Linked DNA regions of Homo sapiens: region 2 is linked to region 1. Evidence: promoter capture Hi-C in human tissues and cell types (Jung and others, 2019). All regions are on one chromosome and are shown on one strand. The core of a region is centred on a gene start or on the middle of the fragment in contact, and the rest is flanking DNA. Distances in the headings are between cores, read along the strand shown. Region 1 holds the start of LIMA1 (LIM domain and actin binding 1). Region 2 overlaps TUBA1C (tubulin alpha 1c).

Evidence for each region. The method cuts DNA at HindIII sites, captures the fragments that hold promoters and counts their contacts. A contact is called where the count stands out against the background at its distance.
Region 2: a fragment that was not itself captured here is called in contact with the fragment with the promoter of LIMA1 in region 1 in 1 of the 25 tissues and cell types used here (pancreas).

Annotation. Positions count from the first base shown.
Region 1 is chr12:50,280,864-50,285,688 of GRCh38, reverse strand. LIMA1 (LIM domain and actin binding 1) reads left to right here and starts at 2,169. Exons shown (of 11, transcript NM_016357.5): 1 at 2,169-2,269. LOC107984505 (a long non-coding RNA gene) reads right to left here and starts at 2,068. Exons shown (of 2, transcript XR_001749144.2): 1 at 1,807-2,068. RefSeq lists a silencer at 1,949-2,258. The HindIII fragment of the contact is 3,196 bases long and covers 343-3,538 here.
Region 2 is chr12:49,269,523-49,274,575 of GRCh38, reverse strand. TUBA1C (tubulin alpha 1c) reads right to left here. Exons shown (of 4, transcript NM_032704.5): 2 at 4,889-5,053; 3 at 4,600-4,748; 4 at 1-2,323. The coding sequence ends at 1,349. Among named protein-coding and RNA genes, the nearest start is that of TUBA1C, 7.0 kb to the right of the region's middle. RefSeq lists a silencer at 296-590. The HindIII fragment of the contact is 6,713 bases long and covers 1-4,832 here.

The sequences.
Region 1 (4,825 bases), core at 920-3,419:
TCTGAATAGAGTTGGGAAGAGATGCATACAACATATGTAGTATTTCCACAGGGAATACAATGGACAAATAACCTCAAGAGCAGAATTATTAGTAAAATGAAGAAAAAAACTACAAAGTGATGAGTTTTTAATATTTATTATATTTAAAAATTTTTTTTTAGAAATAGGGTCTCACTCTGTTGCCCAGGCTGGAGTGCAGTGGTGTGATCATAGCTCACTGCAACATCAAACTTCTAGCCTCAAGCCATCTTCCCGCCTTAGCCTCCCAAAGCACTGGGATTACAAATGTGACTCAACATGCCTGGCCTATTACTTTTATTTTTAAGATAATTTAATTGTAGCTTATATAATTTGATTTCTAATAATGGTTGTGCTTATGACCTGGCTCATAAAATCCCTGAAAATTTAGCAATCAACCTAATGCTAGCTCTATCTTCAAAAGGAGGCTTTGGGAAAGCAAGTAATTTTTGTATCCACTAAAGCACAGAGCTAAAAAAAATTGGGGGGAGGGGAGACATCTATTGAGGGAACGCCACATGCAGGGTAACGTATTTTCTGGAGTACTATCCTGTATTGATATTGTATGCTCTTTAGCATTCCCATGCTGTCTGCCACTTTTGCTGGAGTCTTGATACTTGATACTGTTAATGCAAAATAAGTAGCAGGCCATTAGTTTGGAGTTGTTTTTGTACCCAGAAAGCAACCCAAAATTTAGAGGTATTCCTTGCACCTTTTGTTTGTTTTGTTTTTTTGAGATGGAGTCTCGTTCTCTCATCCAGGCTGGAGTGCAGTGGCGAGATCTCTGCTCACTGCAATCTCCACTTCCCGGGTTCAAGTCATTCTCGTGCCTCAGCCTCCCGAGTAGCTGGGATTACAGGCACTTACCACCACGTCCGGCTAATTTTTGTATTTTTAGTGGAGACGGTGCTTCGCCATGTTGGCTAGGCTGGTCTCGAACTCCTAACCTCAGGGGATCCGCCTGCCTCAGCCTCCCAAAGTGCTGGGATTACAGGTGTGAGCCACCGCGCCCGGCCCCTTGTACCTGATTTTGAATGGAGTTTCAACCAATCACAAACAGACAACCAGCCAAGTGGTTATATAATTAGGGACCTCCCATGTGACCATACCCAAATAAGGCAAACGCTTAGCTGTAGCCAATCAAATTTCTTTACTTTCGTGTTCAGCCTATAAAGTTTGATGCCTGGGCAGCTAGAGCAGGGGTGTCTGAGCCTCTTTTGGTTCTGACTGTTGTCCGATTCAAAATCTAAGTTTGTTTTGTCTGAAATTTTTATTTCTACAATACCTATCCAGAAATCAGTCTAGGCTGGATATTTGAAGGAAGAAGGGAATAACTGGCTGGCATATTCATCACCTGTTGGAAATCTCTCTTCTCACACATTTTCATTAACTTCTTGAGGAAGTGTAATTACAAGCGTTTTCCCACGAGCAGCCCCTACTAATAACGCATCAAGCTGCATGAATTCCGAAAAGCTTCAGAAAACTTGTGGTCTGAAACCCTACTATGCTTGAGGTACAGGAAAGAAGGATACTATCAAAAGGCATCATGCAGCTGGCACGGAACTGGGACAAGAATTTGGGGGCAGGATGGCCAAGTGCTAGGCCAATTGACGGTCTCCAAACCATTAGCACAGCTCCTATTCTGAATGGAGGAGTAAAAACAGCTGTTGGAGAACTTGGACGTCATCTGCCCTTGTCAAACCGTTTTCAGGATTAATGTACTTAATTCAGCTTTTTCCACTACACCACACAGCCTCCTGTAAAACACCCTCCCTGCACACAACTTACCCCCAAAGCACCAGGAACCTAGCTGGCTAGAGTTGAGCTTAGGAAAAACCTGAGTGGCTCCAGAGTCAAACTGCGATAACGTTGAGTCAGAGGAGTTAAGGACAAAGTAGAGCTGCACAGAGGCCCACGTCGTGCAAGTGCGTGTCTCCTTCAGAGAAAAGCGTGCCGAGGTAGACTAGGCCCCGGGCAGCAAAAACCCTGTCCCGTCGCCAGCGCCCCGCACCGCCAGAGCGACTGGAGCAGACGCGAGCGCTGGGCACGTAGCCGGTGGCGCGCACGCTCAGCCCGAGGCCGCACGGGAGGCTGTCTGGCGTGCGCGCCCCCGCGGCGGTGGGCGGGGTCCGGGGCGGGGCCGCAGGAGCAGTAGGTGTTAGCAGCTTGGTCGCGACAGGTGCGCTAGGTAGAGCGCCGGGACCTGTGACAGGGCTGGTAGCAGCGCAGAGGAAAGGCGGCTTTTAGCCAGGTAAGGGCCTTCTCTCTCCACAACCGGAGAGTGCGGGAAGACCCCGGCTTCTCTCCACACCCTCTTTCTCCTTCGACTTTTGGGGCGGGGGGAGTGCAAGGAGTGTGAGTCCCTCCCCCTCGAGATAAGGGGTCGAGGGACGCTGATCCTCCGTTCTTTCCTCACTTCTGGGGCCTGCGCTGGGTGGGGAGTGCTTATGTCGGGCTGAGCCTTTGCTGCCCAAGGGCGGGAGCTGCAAATACCCCGTCCTCTCCCACCGAGAACACTGCATTCTAACTGTATACTTTCTGGTGTGGTGGAGGAAGGTGACAATTCATTAAAACTCCAAATACCCTCCTTCCAGGGAAATACTGTAATATTCAACTGTTCTTTTTCCTTCATTTTCAGCCATTCCCTCTCTTTTCGATTTTTTCTCCCTTCCATTACGCCAGCTGAACTCTGTTTAAGACACTTACACCCTTTTGAGGAATGTTGAGAATATAGCAGTCCTTGCAGCCGATGTGTCATCCCCGAATCGCTATCGTGTATATATCGCTGGCACTTGCCCCCGACATATGTTGGTGTTAATGTAAGGTAATTGTACACCCCTGGCTACACATACTAAAGCTTGAAGTTGTAGCTGCTAGGAACGAACCATCTGGCACCCTTCCTAGCCTCCTTACTGATGCTTGCAAGAACGGTTTAGCTGATCCTGGTGAGAGATATTTGAACTACTATTGTCTTGCACCTAATTCCAGCTTTCAAAAGTCTGCCTTGGACGGGCGCAGTGGCTCACGCCTATAATCCCAACACTTTGGGAAACTGAGGCGGGAGGATCGCTTGAGCCCAGGTGTTTGAGACCAGCCAAGGCAACTTAGCGAGACCCTTGTCTCTACAAAAAAATAAATAAATAAATAAAAATAAAAGATAAGTCTGCCTAATCCAGATCTGCCTAATCCAGATGGTTCAATTGACTTGACTTTTCAGGTTAGTCAAAGGTAATTAGGGAGTTATCAGTTTTTAAGGCAATGCCCATTTTGGGGAGAGGTTTTCTTTTGCATTAAGTATTCTTTCTTTTGCTCTTGATTTAAATGGTTTAACACAGTACCTTTTATCTGCTTGGTTACCAATACTATTCACAAATGCTAAATATTTCAGGAGCCATGAAATAACACCAATCCTTTCTTCTGAGGTATGATGTAGACACAAAAGAACATGACCCCTAACAACATGTTCTAAGTTCCTGTAGAGGTATAACCTGGGTGCAGGATGATCACGTTTTAGATAGATCTTCAAAAAATTATAGAGTTGGCGTGAAAGAAGGCAAAAAAAAGTGTGTGTTCATATATGTTTTCTTGTTTTGCATTGATAGAACAACATATAATGTACTAGGTAATTAGTTTAGGAACTTATTTCATTCTTTGGACAAAATATTGAGTGCCTTTCATGTCAGTCCTACTGTAGATTCAAAGTGCCAAACGTCTTTACCCTAAAAGAACTTAAAATCAAATGGGTTAGACAGATCCACATACAATTTATGGTATTAGTGAGGTCATTTCTATACTAGAGGTCAGCCCAGGGTACTGTAGGAGCATAGGGAATATAGGTGTTTTGTTTTGTTTTTTAATTCTCTCTTCTGCTTTTCCTTAAAAACAAAAACCTCTGAGTAATAATGAGTGATTCTCTTCAATCTATGTATTTGTATCACTTTCATATTTCTTACCCTCTCTTCCTCCAATTCTATGGCCTATGGAAAATGGGATTAGACCCTGTTGTTAATGTGGCATTTAGTAAATAGTTGGATCTGTTTCCACTGTTCTGTATTGGGCTGGGAAGTGTTGTTATCAGGTAGTCCCTGGGAAGAGAACAGTATATTGGCAACATTAGCAAAGGAGTGCCATTTTGTAAAAATTACCTCATTGTATAACTTTCTTTAACTTGGTACACTCAAGCTTTGTTCCAGACTCTGGTTAAAGGTGGGGCTAAATTTCAACCTAATAATTCTAAAAGAAAGCTTCAGAAGCTAAAACAATTCACATCTTGGTGACAGGGGATACTTTTTCCTGCTAAGATGCCCTCAAAATGTTTTTCTCTTTCTTTTTTTCTTGGGTGGGGAAGACAGGGTAGATAGGTGGGTGGGGAAAAATGTTTTTAAGTATAATTTTGACTAGTGTTTCTTCAGGTTTCAAATTCTTATATTTTCTCTGGTATTTTTCACCAGTTAACTGCAATTAACTTAGAGCCCTCGTACCAAAAAAATTTATCAAAGACACACACACAGACACAAAAGAATATTGAGAGTGTGGGAGTTCATTAGACATCTTTGGCATAATAGGGCACCTAACCACAAATTGGAAGAATTTATTATTTAAATTGACAGTGAAACTAGTTTCAGGCATTCTTAATTCCATACACTATTAGATAGATGACTTTTAGATTAGAATTGTACCCTTTCTGCAGATAGGAAAATGTATAACGAGTCCTAAGTTAGTAATTTCCATTAGAAAAGGCAATTGTTTTTTAAGTTTGCTATTGTCTTTCACTGTATGTTTTTTGATAGAAACTTAAGGTACTTCA
Region 2 (5,053 bases), core at 227-2,726, 1.0 Mb after region 1:
ACTGACAGCAATAGTTCTGGCAGTGTGGCTGGGCACTTGAATTTTGGCTCCAGCAGTTACTGTTATCTAACCCTTTGCTACTGTACATGTGGTCACATCAGACCAACAGCATCATTTGGGAGGTTATTAAAAAACGTATCTAGGGGCCAGGTGTAGTGGCTCACTCCTGTAATCCCAGCACTTTGGGAGGCTGAGGCAGGATTGCCTGAGCCCAGGAGTTCAAGGCCAGCCTAAGCAACATGGCAAAACCCCATCTCTACCAAAAAAAAAAAAAAAAAAAAAAAAAAAAATTACAAGAATCAGCCAGGCATGGTGGAACACACCTGTAGTCCTGGCTACTTGGGAGGCTGAGGTGGGAGGATGGCTTAGCCCAGGTCAAGGTGGGGGTGAGCTATGATGGTGCCATTGCACTGCAGCCTGGGAAAGAGACCATCTCAAAGAAAAAAAATTTAAGACGTGTCTGAAGCCTCACCTCAAGCCTATAGAATTAGAACCTGCATTTTGTTTTTAAATTTGAGAGTCAGGGGTCTCCGTCACCCAGGCTGGAATGCAGTGGTGCAATCATGGCTCACTACCTCAACCTCCTTGGGCTCAGGTGGTCCTCCCACCTATAGGCAGGTGCCATCACAGCATGCAAATTTTTGTTTTGGTAGAGATGGGTTTTCACCATGTTGCCCAGGCTGGTCTCGAATTCCTGGGCTCGTGATCCACCCAACTTGGCCTCCCGAAGTGCATGAGCCACCAGGTTGACCCCAAACCTGCATTTTAATATCTACAGGTGATTCACATCCATTTTAGTTAGAGAAGCACTGGCTCAATCTGAACCCGTTTCCTCACTTACAAAATGATTCTATAACCACTTAATTCAGGCCCAAATTAAACAGATAAACCAAGAAGCTGGGCAGTGGCTCATGCCTATAATCAAAACTTTGAGAGGTTGAGGCAGGAGGATCACTTGAAGCCAGTTGAAGACCACCCTGGGCAGCATAGCAAGGCCCCATCTCTACAAGAAATAAAAATAGCTGGGCATGGTGGTGTGCACCTGCAGTCCCCAGCTACTTAGGAGGCTGAAGCAGGAGAATCACATGAGTCCAGGAGCTCGAGGCTGCAATGAGCTATGTATTATCATGCCACTGCACTCCAGCCTGGGTGACAGAGCAAGACCCTCGACTCAGGTGGTTTCATCTACCAGCCTCATACATCCAACTTTAACTGGATCAAGTATTTAAGTCAGCTCGACATTTAAAATGGAAACTTCAATTTTATTAACAATTTACGGCAATAGACATTTACAGAACAAAAATAAGACAGTTCCAAGACAAAGGAGTGTAAAAGTACAGCACACAGGTTAATACTCTTCACCCTCATCCTCTCCGTCAGCACTATCTGCTCCAACCTCCTCATAATCCTTCTCAAGGGCAGCCATGTCCTCACGGGCCTCTGAAAACTCGCCTTCCTCCATCCCCTCACCCACGTACCAGTGAACAAAGGCACGCTTGGCATACATCAGGTCAAACTTGTGGTCCAGGCGAGCCCAGGCCTCGGCAACAGCTGTGGTATTGCTCAGCATGCACACAGCTCTCTGTACCTTGGCCAGGTCTCCGCCAGGCACCACAGTGGGAGGCTGGTAATTAATGCCAACCTTGAAGCCAGTGGGGCACCAATCCACAAACTGGATGGTACGCTTGGTTTTGATGGTGGCAATGGCAGCATTGACATCTTTGGGAACCACGTCACCACGGTATAACAGGCAGCAAGCCATGTATTTACCATGGCGAGGGTCACATTTCACCATCTGGTTGGCTGGCTCAAAGCAAGCATTGGTGATCTCTGCTACAGTAAGCTGTTCGTGGTAGGCTTTCTCAGCAGAGATGACAGGGGCATATGTGGCCAGAGGGAAGTGGATGCGGGGGTAGGGCACCAGGTTGGTCTGGAATTCTGTCAGGTCAACATTCAGGGCTCCATCAAATCTCAGGGAAGCAGTGATGGAGGACACAATCTGGCTAATAAGGCGGTTAAGGTTAGTGTAGGTTGGGCGCTCGATATCGAGGTTTCTACGACAGATGTCATAGATGGCCTCATTGTCTACCATGAAGGCACAATCAGAGTGCTCCAGGGTGGTGTGGGTGGTGAGGATGGAGTTGTAGGGCTCAACTACAGCTGTGGAAACCTGGGGCGCCGGGTAAATGGAGAACTCCAGCTTGGACTTCTTGCCATAATCAACTGAGAGACGTTCCATGAGCAGCGAGGTGAACCCAGAACCAGTTCCCCCACCAAAGCTGTGGAAAACCAAGAAGCCCTGAAGACCGGTGCACTGGTCAGCCTGCAAAATAAAAAAGTTTCATTTTAGTGTTGCGAAAGTTTCATTTAGTGTTCACATTTGGTGAAACCTACAGAGGACTTCTATAAATCTATGGCTACTCCAATTGCAATTTTAAAACTCTTCTGGGCCAGGCGCAGTGGCTCACGCCTGTAATCAACACTTTGGGGGTCCAAGGTGGGAGGACCATTTGCATTTGAGCCCAGGGGTTCAAGACTGATGATCAGGCCACTGCACTCCAGCCTGGATGACAGAGCAGACCCTGTCTCCAAAAAAAAAAAAAAGCTTTTAAGTGCTAAGTGATTCAGAACAACTTTTCACAATCAAGTCCTTGAGCAGAAAAACCTTTGCTAAGACTATTTTAAGATGAACTATTGCCTTAGGCAGAGGAATCACAAGGCCTGGGCTTGCATACAGGGCTCAAGTTTTGGTAACTGGGAAGGCAGCCTCTGGTTCTCTTGCTGTGGCCACAGAACAGGGCAGTTTCTTAGTTGGAGAGGTCCTAAGGGGCAGGCCCAGGACCACCAGCCTGGTACAGTGGATGTCTTGTAAAGATTTGGCAGCTGCTTTCTGAGGTGGAACAACAGAATAGCCAAAGTTCTAACACCCTGGTACTGGAGTCAGGCTGTGTCAGGATCCGGCTGTACCAGTTCCTTACTGTATGACCACATTCATTTCTCAGTTCTTCCACTGATTAAGTGAGAATAGTAATCACCTTAGGTTGAGAATTAAGTAAGTACTCAGCATAGTGCTTGGCACAGTAAGCACAGTATTGGCCCAGTAAGCCAATATATGACACTAGGTACCAAGAAGCCCATTTATTTTGGGTAAAGTGACACAACCACAATTCCATGAGACCTCAGGTTGTTGGGGATTTCCTCCACCTAACTGGGCTATTTTGGTTAGCAAACTGCTACTTTACGAAGGAATGATTTTGACCTTCCAAATAAAGTATTCTGTTGTAAACTCTTGCTTCTCCAAGTGATGGGCCTCAGATTTGTGAACATTCTCTACTCAGCTCCCTTATAGCCTGTGGGTCCATCAACTACATGAGATCAATGCACAGGGCAGACTCTCGCCTACCAATTACACCAGTTAAGCCTCCTGTGAGCACAGTAATGACAAGGACAAATGCAATTGTTTTGGTAGGCAATAAACCTCACGTTCCAGAACCCTAAATAGCTACTAGGTTTATTTGTCCTAAAGGCAGGTCCCTGATTTTCCAAGTCAGTGCTTATAACTAAAGCTTAGGGTTTTTTTTGTTTGTTTGTTTTTTTGAGATGGAGTCTCACTCTGTCGCCCAGGCTGGAGTGCAGTGGCACGATCTCGGCTCACTGCAAGCTCCGCCTCCCGTGTTCACGCCATTCTCCTGCCTCAGCCTCCCTAGTAGCTAGGACTACAGGCGCCCACCACCACGCCCGGCTAATTTTTTTGTATTTTTAGTAGAGAGGGTTTCACCATGTTAGCCAGGATGGTCTCGATCTCCTGACCTCATGATCCGCCCACCTTGGCCTCCCAGTGCTGGGATTACAGATGTCAGCCACCGTGCCCAGCCTAAAGCTTAGTTTTTAAGCATCGGAAACATCAGTCCAGTTTTGCTGGGAAGACTACGTAAACATCTGAGAAAGTATGAAGCCATGAATGATGAGGCTATTCTATTTTAGAATGGAGCAGTCATGGCTGGGCTTAATACAATGTGATTTTCTTGACAAGTTACTCTGCCCAGACCATCATGCTTGATCTCTGGTTAATTACTTACAAGCTGCCCACATGCCTAAGGAGCAAAGAGTCATCTGATTGCCAGGCTCTTAATTAAAGTGATCCAAACAGCACACTTCATAAGGAAGCTCCCGACTCCACTTTCAGCAGTACTGGAAGTTTCCAGTATTGGCTGTTTCTTGTCAGTGTGACACTGGCTTCTTGTTCTCTGAACTTTCTGTATTGACATGAAGGAACCATCCCAGATTTTTAAAAAATGACTCTGATCAATTAGTTACATGTAGAAGTCAGCTACCTACTCACTCAGTATGACTAAGATGACCTCAAAAGGGGTGTCTCAGCTTGAAGCAAAATAGGCTAAAGAGCACTTACTTCTACCCCATAGTTGTCCCATAAATCCAAGATCATCTGGTTCAGAAATCCAATTAATTTAGTGAACAGATACATTTTAGTTGCAATGCAAATAGTCTCATTTTAGTTGCAAAGAATGATTTCTGTAGTTTGGTCTCAGAACTGCAAAAGAAACTCTCATCCCACTTTATTTAAAGTACTATACTTACCAGCTTGCGAATTCGGTCCAACACGAGGTCAATGATCTCCTTGCCAATGGTGTAGTGCCCTCGGGCATAGTTATTGGCAGCATCTTCCTTGCCTGTGATGAGTTGCTCAGGGTGGAAGAGCTGGCGGTAAGTGCCAGTGCGAACTTCATCTGGAGAACATGATGGGGGAGGAGGAGGAGGGACAAGGAGCGGGGAGGGAGAGTGGGTGAGTGACCAGCGGAGCCCCCCCAGGACAGACCTCCTGTCCCAGCACCCTGGGATCTCACTTGGGTTACTGAGGTCAACTCACCAATGACTGTGGGTTCCAAGTCTACAAACACTGCCCGGGGCACATGCTTGCCAGCACCCGTTTCACTGAAGAAGGTGTTGAAGGAATCATCTCCTCCCCCAATGGTCTTGTCACTTGGCATCTGGCCATCGGGCTGGATGCCGTGTTCCAGGCAGTAGAGCTCCC